Regions from separate parts of the Homo sapiens genome. Here region 1 is linked to region 2. Evidence: promoter capture Hi-C in 16 types of primary human blood cells and fetal thymus (Javierre and others, 2016). All regions are on one chromosome and are shown on one strand. The core of a region is centred on a gene start or on the middle of the fragment in contact, and the rest is flanking DNA. Distances in the headings are between cores, read along the strand shown.

Region 1 (5,441 bases), core at 2,600-5,099, 210 kb before region 2:
ATGAAGGCACCTTTCTCATGGGTGAGATTAATGCTTTTATGAAAGGGCAAGTTCAGTCTCCTTTGGCCCCTTTGCCCTTCTGCCTTCCACCATGGGAGGATGCAGCAACAAAGCCCTCACAAGATGCTGGCACCTTGATCTTGGACTTCTCAACCTCCAGAACTATAAGAAAACAAGTTTCTGTTCATTATAACTGACCCGTCTGTGGTATTTTGTTATAGCAGTGTGAAACAGACTGAGACAATCTTTTTGGAGGCGTTAGTCACCAGCCTAAAGAGACAATCAGAAACAGGTGGTTCTAGTAGGTACCATAGAGTCAGAGCAGTGAGGCAGGAAAGGACTACAGCAGTGAGGCTGCTGAGCCAGCAGTGCTTGACACATCCTAGGTATTGCCGACTCTGATCCCTAAGGAATGCAGTGTTCTCTCCATTGCCCAAGCGTAACATGACACATAAGGGAGAGATGAAGACTACTTACATGAGTCCCAGAATTCAGCAAGATGTTTGTCAGTGCAAGGATTCATGCAAAACTTGACAATTACCCTCCCATACCTGTGCTATCCCATATGGTAGCCATTACCACATGTAGCCACTGAGCATGTAAAATGTGGCTGGTGTGACTGAAGAATTGAATTTTGAATTAAATTAAATTAATTAATTAATTAATTTTTTCAAGACAGAGTCTCACTTGGTCACCCAGGCTGGAGTGCAGTGGCACGATCTCGGCTCACTGCAACCTTTGCCTCCCGCGTTCCAGCAATTCTCCTGCCTCAGCCTCCCAAGTAGCTGGGACTACAGGCTGGAGTGCCACCACGCCTGGCTAATTGTTGTATTTTTTAGTAGAGACGGGGTTTCACCATGTTGGCCAGGCAGGTCTCTAACTCCTGACCTTGTGATCCACCTGCCTTGGCCTCCCAAAATGCTGGGATTACAGGCGTAAGCCACCATGCCTGGCCTTTATTTTATTTATTTATTTATTTTGAGATGGAGTCTGGCTCGTTGCCCAGGCTGGAGGGTGATCTCAGCTCACTGCAACCTCTGCCCCCTGGGTTCAAGCGATTCTGCTACCTCTGCCTCCTGAGTAGCTGGGATCACAGGCATGCGTCACCATACCTGGCTAATTTTTGTATTTTTAGTAGAGATGGGGTTTCACCATGTTGACCAGGCTGGTCTCAAACTCCTGACCACAAGTGATCCACCCACCTTGGTCTCCCACAGTGCTGGAATTACAGGTGTGAGCCACCATGCCTGGCCTGAATTTTGAATTTTAATTATTAATAATTGCCATTGAAATTGAAATTGAGACCCACTTCCACTTCCAGGAAAATGGAGTGCGTGTACTGCTCCTTATTTCTCTTGCTAAGTACAACTAAAACTCCTGGATATTACATATAAGACAAACCTCTCACTGAAAGGTGGAGAGAAGGCAGACCATTTAGGAACCTCAGTAGCTAAGGAAGTACATGGTGGAGAGTTTTCCTTCTAGAACACTCTCCACCGTGTAATTTCTTTTTACCTCAATATCCCAGACTTCGAATAGAGAAACTGGAAAATCAGAGATAGCAACAAGCAGACAAAAATGTCCCCATGAAGGACTTTCTCTAGCCAAAGGACGAGGAAAGAGGTAGAGTAGCCAGGCAGCTCTTGGACAATTACTACTGTACTCCAGGCAATCACCACAGAGAAAACTGTGGCTCCACCCAACCTGTGCCAGCAATGACTGAGTGAGGAGTAGGATTCCATCCTTGTAAGGCTACAATGAAGCACCCCGATGTTCCTGCCTAAGTGATGTCAGAGAACTCCTGGTAGGGAGCTGGGATTTTCCTCCCCATTGGCTGGTGATATCTTTCCTGCCCTGTGGGGAGCCTGGACTTCTAGTCTACCCGGTAGCTATGAGATGCCCCTCCCACTCACTGCTAGGGCAGCAGCAGAGGGGGCCTAGGAGAGTCAGGACTTCACTGACCATTGCCCACTGGCAATGAGGCCACCCCATGGGGTGAACACAGCATGGAAAGCAGGCACTCCTACCCTGGCTCAGCATTAACAAGCAGCCTCCCCTGACCCTGAACATCCAAAGAGGCTGAGTGGGGACTTTACCTTCCTAGGGAATAATGAGGCAGCATGTCCACTTTCCCTGCCAAAGCAATGTCAACAAAAGTCAGCTACAACAAAAGATCAAAAATATACAGGTTTCCATCAAGAATCATCCATCACACCAAGAACTAGGAAGATCTCAAAACTAAGTTAAAAAAAAAAACCCAATAGAAGCCAACACTGAGATGATAGAGATGTTAGAATTATCTAAAATTTAAAGTCAGCCATAACAGAAAGACTTTAATGAGCAATTACAAACACTCCTGATACAAAAGATAAAAAGTGCCAGCAAAGAAACAGAAACTAGAAGAAGGAATAAATGGAAATTTTACTTTTTTTTTTTTTTTTGAGAAAGGGTCTCATTTTTGAGAAAGGGTCTCACTCTGTTGCCCAGTCTGGAGTACAGTGGTGCAATCATAGCTCATTGCAGCCTTGAACTCCTGGGCTCAAGCGATCCCCCGTAACCAAGTACCTCAGTTTTAAAAATATATTTTAATCACTCACTTTCTTTGTCTTCCTTCCTTCCCCTCTCATCCCTTCATTCCTTCCCTCTCTACACTCCCCTCTGGCAATGAATGTTTATCTAATTACATTCTTGCTTAAGAAATCCCAGAGGCTAATCTCAAACAAACCAGGCATGAAGCCCCCACTGCAGAATCCTCCCGTTTAGGGGGAGTCATGACAATTAGTCCACCATCACCAGGCTGAAGTCAAGATAACGCCAATCATACCTTTGGACAGGTGATTACCCAAGATAGCCACCAGAACAAGACACACAGGACCCTGCACCCTGCACCATTCCCGCATGTTTCCCATACCAAGTTTCCCTTTGAAAACCCCGTGGTAAATTTTAAAATTTAAGCCGGTACTTTAGAATGCTATTGCCATCTTCTTTGTTTGCTGGCTCTCCAGTTAAAACTGCTTTTCCTCCCACCTACCCCAACTCCTGTATTCTGGCTTCTTCTTGTTTTTTTTTTTTTTTTTAAGGCTTACTCTATCGCGTAGGCTGTAGTGCAGTGATGCCATCTTGGCTCACTGCAACCTCTGCCTCCTGGGTCAAGCAATTCTTGTGCCTCAGCCTCCCAAGTAACTGGGATTACAGGTGCGCACCACCACGCCTGGCAAATGTTTTGTATTTTTGGTAGAGATGGAGTTTCATCATGTTGGCCAGGCTGATCTCGAATTCTTGACCTCAAGTAATCTGCCCGCCTCAGCCTCCCAAAGTACTGGGATTACTGGCATGAGCCACCACGATCGGCTCCAAAAATGGAAACTTTAGAACTAAAAGATTGCTGGGCATGGTGGCTCATGCCTGTAATCCCAGCACTTTGGAGGCTGAGGTGGGCGGATCACCTGAGGTCAGGAGTTCGAGACCAGCCTGATCCAACACGATGAAACCCCAACTCTACTAAAAATAAAAAAAATTAGCCAGTGTGGTGGCATGTGCCTGTAGTCCCAGCTACTTGGGAGGCTGAGACAGGAGAAAAGCTTGAACCCAGGAGGTGGAGGTTGCGGTGAGCTGGGATTGCGCCTTGCATTCCAGCCTGGGCAACAAGAGGGAAACTCCATCTCAAAAAAAAAAAACTAAACTAAACTAAAAAACTAAAAGATACAGTAACTGAAATGAAAAGCTCAGTGAATGGGTTCAAGAGAAGAATAAAAGGGTCCAAGGAAAGAATTAGTGAACTGGAAGCTAGAACAATAGAAATTATCCAATGTAAACAGATGTATCCATTTTTACAGAGAAAAATGGAGGGGAATGTGGAGGTGGGAGAGCCGAAGCGTAAGAATTATAACAAAAGATCTAGTATTTGTATCAGTAGAGTCATAGAAGTAGAGTTCGAAAGGAGAGGTGTGAATGAAAAAGCTCTGGAAATAATGCCTGAAAACTCCCCAAATCCCAAATTTGGCCATAAAAATAAACCTACAGATTCAAGAAGCTGAGTGAACCACAAACAGTAAAAACCCAAATAAATCTAAGCCAAGAATCTCCTAATTCAACTTCTGAAAAGTATGCAAAGAGAAAAGCTTGAAAGCAGCCAGAGAAAACACCTTATCTATCCATAGGGGAAAATCATTAGAATGACTACAGATTCTCTTGAGAAACCACGGAGAGCAGGAGGAAGTGGCACAGCATTTTTCAAGTGCTGAAAGAAAACTATCAATCTAGAATCCTGTAGCCAGTGGAAATACCCTTCAGGAAGGGAGGGGACATGAAGACATTTTCAGGTGAAGGAAACCTAAGAGAATGTCACCAATAGACCTCCCTTAAAAGAACGGCTAAAGGAGGTTCTCTAAAAAGAAAGAAAAAGATAAAAAGAAAAAGCCTTAGCACATCAGGAAGAAAAGAAAGAACATGGTAAGCAAAAATATCAGTTAATATGACAGACCTTCCTTCTCTTGAGTTTTCTTAAATGTTTGATAGTCAAAACAAAAAAATTATGTGTCTGATGTGAACTGAAAAAGAACAACACTGAAAAAGAAAACCATTCGAGTGGTTTTCACTCTGTGACAATAGCCTCCAATCATTTTGTACCTTTTAAGCATGACCATTGGGTTTTCACACTCATATGGGAGGTGCCTCCCTCAAACTTTGTTACATTGGCACATGACTCATCTGATGTGAACTTAGGAAAAAACTCACAATGACCCATATGCACTTCATCCCAGTGTCCAATAAGATTTTTCTTTTCTAAGGTGAATAAGCTCATTTTGTCCATTCAGTGTAGGCTTCTGCTGGAAATGGAAAATTCTCTTACAAAGGAAAAGCTTTTTTTACTGATGGAAAAAGATTTAACAGGATTAATAATATCAGCATAAGGATCACTTGAGCCCAGGAGTTCAAGACCAGCCTGGGCAACATAGGGAGTCCCTGTATCTACAAAAAAAAAAAAAAAAAAAAAAATATATATATATATATATATATATATATATATATATATATATATATATATATATATATGGCGGTGCACACCTGTAGTCCCAGCTACCCAGCTACTTGAGAGGCTGAGGTAGGAGGATCACTTGAGTCCAAGAGGTCAAGGCTGCACTGAGCCATGTTCATGCTACTGCATTGCAGCCTGGGTGACAGAGCAAGAACCTCTCAAAAAAAAAAAAAAAAAAAAAAAAAAAAACCAGCAGAGTACTACTTACGAATATTGACTTAATATCGAAGATTTTTTTATTATGCTAATTTTTTTTTTTTTAGACGAAGTCTCACTCTGTAGCCCAGGCTGGAGTGCAATGGCACGATTTCAGCTCACTGCAACCTCTGCCTCCAGGGTTCAAGCAATTCTCCTGCCTCAGCCTCCCAAGTAGCTGAGACTACAGGTGTGTGCCACCACACCC
Region 2 (5,887 bases), core at 2,380-4,879:
TTTGTGGCCTAGGAGCGACAGGCTACACCATACAGCCTAGGTATGCAGTAGGTCATATCATCTACGTTTGTGTTACATATGCTCTATGATGTTCGCACAATAACAAAATTGCCTAACGTTGCTCAGAATGTATCCCCATTAAGTAACATGACTGTATAACATACATACTGAAAAGCATACAAATCCTAAGTATATAGTTTAATGAACTTTATAAAATGAGCATACCTGCACAACTGGCCCTCAGCTCAAGAAAAAGGAGAAACAGAGCCTTAGTAGAACTCTAGAAGCCCTCTTATAGTCTCTCCCTTCCCCACAAGGGTAAACTTTAGCCTGATTTCTTTTTCTTTTTTTGAGATGGAGTTTCGCTCTTGTTGCCCAGGCTGGAGTGCAATGGTGCGATCTTGGCTCACTGCAACCTTCACCTCCCGGATTCAAGCGATTCTCCTGTCTCAGTCTCCCAAGTAGCTGGGACTACAGGTGTGCGCCACTACATCTGGCTAGTTTTATATTTTTAATAGAGATGGGGGTTTCACCATGTTGGTGAGGCTGGTCTTGAACTCCTGACCTCAAGTGATCCACCCGCCTCGGCCTCTCAAAGTGTTGGGATTATAGGCGTGAGCCACTGCACCCAGCCACCTTACCCTGATTTCTAACGCCATGAAGTAGTTTTGTCACTTATGAACTTGATTTAATGGACTCAAACAATATGTACTCTTTTGCGACTGGCTTCTTTCACTCAACTGTTACATTCTTCCACGTTCGTAATCTAATCCATGTTCATTATTGTGTAGCATTTCCACTGCGTGATACCATATTTATTTATTCTATTGTTGAAACACTTTGGATTGTGCCTAGTTTGGAATTATTATGAATACTCTTGCTTTGAACTTCCTAGAACATGTCTTTGGTACCAACGTATTCATATTTCTGTATGTTAAGAGACTCAGAAAAAGTGCTGGATTATATGTTATGCATATGCTCAACTTCAGTAAATACTGCTAGTTTTCCAACATGATTTTTACAGTTCACACTCCCACCAGCAGTGCATAAGAAGTGCATTTGTTCCTGCTCATCATCACTGGCCATCAGAGAAATGCAAATCAAAACCACAATGAGATACCATCTCACACCAGTTAGAATGGCAATCATTAAAAAGTCAGGAAAAAACAGGTGCTGGAGAGGATGTGGAGAAATAGGAACACTTTTACACTGTTGGTAGGACTGTAAACTAGTTCAACCATTGTGGAAGACAGTGTGGCAATTCCTCAAGGATCTAGAACTAAAAATACCATTTGACCCAGCCATCCCATCACTGGGTATATACCCAAAGGATTATAAATCATGCTGCTATAAAGACACATGCACACTTATGTTTATTGCCGCACTATTCACAATAGCAAAGACTTGGAACCAACCCAAATGTCCATCAATGATAGACTGGATTAAGAAAATGTGACACATATACACCATGTGCAGCCATAAAAAAGGATAAGTTCATGTCCTATGTAGGGACATGGATGAATCTGGAAACCATCATTCTCAGCAAACTATTGCAAGGACAAAAAACCAAACACCGCATGTTCTCACTCATAGGTGGGAATTGAACAATGAGAACACTTGGACACAGGAAGGGGAACATCACACACTTGGGCCTGTCATGGGGTGAGGGAAGGGGGGAGGGATAGCATTAGGAGATATACCTAATGTAAATGACGAGATAATGGGTACAGCACACCAACATGGTGCATGTATACATATGTAAGAAACCTGCACGTTGTGCACATGTACCCTAGAACTTAAAAGTATAATAATTTTAAAAAAAGAAAAAAAAAGTGCGTACTGCTCCAACAACAACAACAACAACAACAAAAAGCGCATTTGTTCCACATCTTTCCAAACACTTGGTAATTTTCTCTTTTTCGTTTTAGCTATCCTGCTGGGTATGCAACTGTACTACATTGAGATTTAATTTGCATTTCCTTGATGACTAATGAAATTTGCATTTCCTTGATGACTAATGAAATTGATGTCTTTTCACATTCCTGATGACCATCTGAAGATAGTTTTTTCTTTCTTAGATGGAGTCTAAGATCGCTCAGGCTGGAGTGCAGTGGCGCGATCTCGGGTCACTGCAACCTCCGCTTCCAGGGTTCAAGCGATTCTCCCACCTCAGCCTCCGAGTAGCTGGGATTACAGGCGCCCACTACTATGCCCAGCTAATTGTTTTGTATTTTTAGTAGAGACGAGGTTTCACCACGTTGGCCAGGCTGGTCTTGAACTCCTGACCTCGGGCGATCCACCCACCTCGGCCTCCCAAAATGCTGGGATTACAGGCGTGTGCCACCGTGCACGGCCAAATCTTTTTTTCTTTTTGAGACGGACTCTTGCTCTGTCGCCGAGGCTGGAGTGCAGTGGCGGATCTCGGCTCACTGCAAGTTCCGCCTCCCGGGTTCACGCCATTCTCCTACCTCAGCCTCCCGAGTAGCTGGGACTACCGGCGCCCGCCACCACGCCCGGCTAATTTTTTGTATTTTTAGTAGAGACGGGGTTTCACCGTGTTAGCCAGAATGGTCTCGATCTCCTGACCTTGTGATCCGCCCGCCTCAGCCTCCCAAAGTGCTAGGATTACAGGCGTGAGCCACCGCGCCGGGCAGAAATAGACATTTTCAAGTGACTGGAGATCATTCATTATATAATTAAAGTAAAAGTAGTCTGCAGGGTGTAATATTTTAAAGCACATTACAATTATGACATTTATGAAATAATTCCAAAATCTGAACTACTTTTTCAACAATTTAAAAAATCTCTAATAAAAAGGGGAATGGTGAATTTTGCTTTATTTATATACACATATTTTTTTAAACCCCAGCACTGTTGAGTACTAGTGTTTGTGTTGGCAACATGGTTTAGCGGGAAAAACACAGAGGTTTACTGCAACTGTGGACCACGTGAGTGAGAAAAAAGTCACTATATGTGTAAAGTATTGTGTAAAGAACGTTAAATAGCTTGATTCTAAGAGAAACTGTTTAGGTTTACATGGTATTTTACTGACAAGCACACATATTGTATGTGACGAAAGCATATCACGTATAAATTAGTATATGTATTATGAGCTCAATCTGTTAATTTAGGTTCTTATTCTTAAGTGCTGCTGTCTCTGTTTATAACGTAATAGTGCTACTTTCATTATCTCAAGAGAGCCGTGGGGTTGTACATGGGTCTAAAACGGACACGCGACAAGGGTTCCTAGGAATAAACCATAAACAGGCCCGGGAGCTACGCTAACGCCAAACGCCGAGCAGTGAGACGCGCAGCACCCGCCCTGCGCCTCGGTGGCAGCCGTCCACGCCGTCAGTGCCTGGCGGTTCCCGTGGGACATACCGTCCACTCGCCACGCCCCTCCGCCCGCGGCGCACCCCACGCACCGTGCCCTGGCCGCCCGCCTCACGCACCGCTTTCCTCTCCGTCCAGCGCTCGCTGCAGCCGGGCCGTCTCGCAGTCCAGCGTGCTGGCCAGAGACCGCAGCTTCCCGCAGAAGCTCCGGATAGGGTCCATGCTGAGCACAGCGGGGAAGGACTCCAGGCGTACGCAGACCCCACCGCTCAGCTCACAGCCTCCCGCCACTAGTTTGAATCTCGGCGCCGGACGCGTCCTCGGCTCTGCGCAGGCGCAGTCCTCTCTCGCGAGAGCCGAAGTCTCTCGCCGAGGCCCCAGGAGACCCCGCGAGACGGGTGCGCTTACGCCACGGCGTCTGCTGGCGGCCGCGGAGACGCAGAGTCTTGAGCAGCGCGGCAGGTGAGTAGCTGTGCGAATTCGGTTCTCTAGGGAGCTCCTTCTTCGCCTGCTGGCCTTACCTGGGCTCCCCGCTTCTCTGGAGGGGAGGCGGTGCGGGAACTCCCGTAGGCGTGAGCTGGAGCGCGCGCCCGCTGCTCTCTCCAGGTCCGGCCGCGCCAGTTCGCCTCCGCAAAGCCCGTCCCTCTCTTCCGCAGGCACCATGTTCCTGACTGCGCTCCTCTGGCGCGGCCGCATTCCCGGCCGTCAGTGGATCGGGAAGCACCGGCGGCCGCGGTTCGTGTCGTTGCGCGCCAAGCAGAACATGATCCGCCGCCTGGAGATCGAGGCGGAGAACCATTACTGGCTGAGCATGCCCTACATGACCCGGGAGCAGGAGCGCGGCCACGCCGCGGTGCGCAGGAGGGAGGCCTTCGAGGCCATAAAGGCGGCCGCCACTTCCAAGTTCCCCCCGCATAGATTCATTGCGGACCAGCTCGACCATCTCAATGTCACCAAGAAATGGTCCTAATCCTGAGTCGTCACCCTTGGATTTTATGGATCACGGAGCTGACCATCTTTACCTGGTCCTGGAACTGAAAAACTGTAGCTTGTGTGAAAATGAGCCTTTGGACCAGTCTTTATTAAAACAAACAAACATGAGTAGTCTGCATATCGAATATCTAGAGCTCTAAACCCCCAATACTTAAAAGTCTAATTGCTGTCCTGTGGTTTCATTAGTCTGATAGGAAGATAGGGATTTCCTCAGTCACAGATGATATTTTGAAGGAAAGCTGCAATAAAGCCACAATGATTTGAGGTCTTTGCTTAAGTATGAGATACTTGATGGGGGCTTTATCATGCAACATTAGTTTGCTTACCTTAAGAATTGCCCAAAAATGAAAGAAAATATGAGCTTTTCAGTTAAACATACTCCTAAAAACATTTTCCGGGATTTTACTACTAAAATTGGACATTTAAGCGAAGTAAAAGAGGCCGGGTGCGGTGGCTCACGCCTGTAATCCCAACACTTTAGGAGTCCAAGGCGGGCGGATCACTTGAGGTCAGGAGTTCAAGACCAGCTTGGCCAAGGTGATAAAACCCGTCTCTACTAATACAAAAAAAATTAGCTGGGTATGTTGGTGCAGGCTTGCAATCCCAGCTACTTGGGACGCTGAGGTGGGAGGATCGCCTGAACCTCAGAGGCAGAGGTTGCAATGAAGCGGAGGTTGCAGTGAGCCGAGAGCATGCCGCTGCACTCCAGCCTGGGAGACTGCATCTCAAAAAAGAAAAATAAACGAAGTAAAAGATATTTATCAGAGCTGTTACAGGAAGGTGTATTTTTTAGCTATTTTGGCAGGGTGCTGTGGTGCTTGCATGTAGTCCCAGCTATTCAGGAATATTGCTTGAGTCCAGCTTGGGCAACATAGCGAGACCCTATCTAAAATAACAATAATATATGGCCAGGCGGGATGGCTCACGCCTGTAATCCCAGCACTTTGGGAGGCTGAGGCGGGCAGATCACTTGAGGCCAGGAGTTCAAGACCAGCCCAACCAACATGGTGAAACCCTGTCTCCACTGAAAATACATAAAATTAGCCGGGTGCAGTGGTGAGGCCTGTAATCCCAGCTACTCAGGAGGCTGAGGCAGGAGAATCGCTTGCACCCAGGAGGTGGAGGCTGCAGTAAGTCGAGATTGTGTCACTGCACTCTAGCCTGGGCGACAGAAAAAGAAAATTTAGGTGGGGAAAAAAATCAGAATTGCGTCTGTGGGAACAGGAATAAAGGAGAAACCACTATTGACTGGGAAGACACACAAAGAACTTTGTCAAAGTTGTATGGCTGAGGCCCACACGGTGGCTCACTTCTGTAATCCCATCACTTTGGGAGGCTTAGGCAGAAGGATCACCTGAGATCAGGAGTTCCAGACCAGCCTGGCCAACATGGCGAAACCCCATCTCTACTAAAAATACAAAAATTAGCCGGGCGTGGTGGCTTACGCCTGTAATCCCAGCACTTTGGGAGGCCAAGGTGGGCGGATCACAAGGTCAGGAGTTCGAGACCAGCCTGGCCAATATGGTGAAACCCCATCTCTACTAAAAATATAAAAATCAGC

What was found. Contacts are between HindIII fragments. The CHiCAGO score rates a contact against its expected background, and 5 or more counts as called.
Region 1: a contact is called between a fragment that was not itself captured here and the fragment with the promoter of SKA3 in region 2, in 1 of 17 cell types (M2 macrophages). The highest score is 5.1, in M2 macrophages.

Annotation. Positions count from the first base shown.
Region 1 is chr13:20,964,701-20,970,141 of GRCh38, forward strand. LOC124903269 (small nucleolar RNA U13) reads left to right here and starts at 4,618; the gene lies at 4,618-4,716. The HindIII fragment of the contact is 540 bases long and covers 3,580-4,119 here.
Region 2 is chr13:21,172,923-21,178,809 of GRCh38, forward strand. SKA3 (spindle and kinetochore associated complex subunit 3) reads right to left here and starts at 3,630. Exons shown (of 9, transcript NM_145061.6): 1 at 3,453-3,630. The coding sequence starts at 3,555. It overlaps MRPL57 (mitochondrial ribosomal protein L57), which reads left to right and starts at 3,736. Exons shown (of 2, transcript NM_024026.5): 1 at 3,736-3,795; 2 at 3,990-5,887. The coding sequence starts at 3,995. The coding sequence ends at 4,303. RefSeq lists enhancers at 1,703-2,425, 3,148-3,870, 3,886-4,205. The HindIII fragment of the contact is 19,534 bases long and covers 1-5,887 here.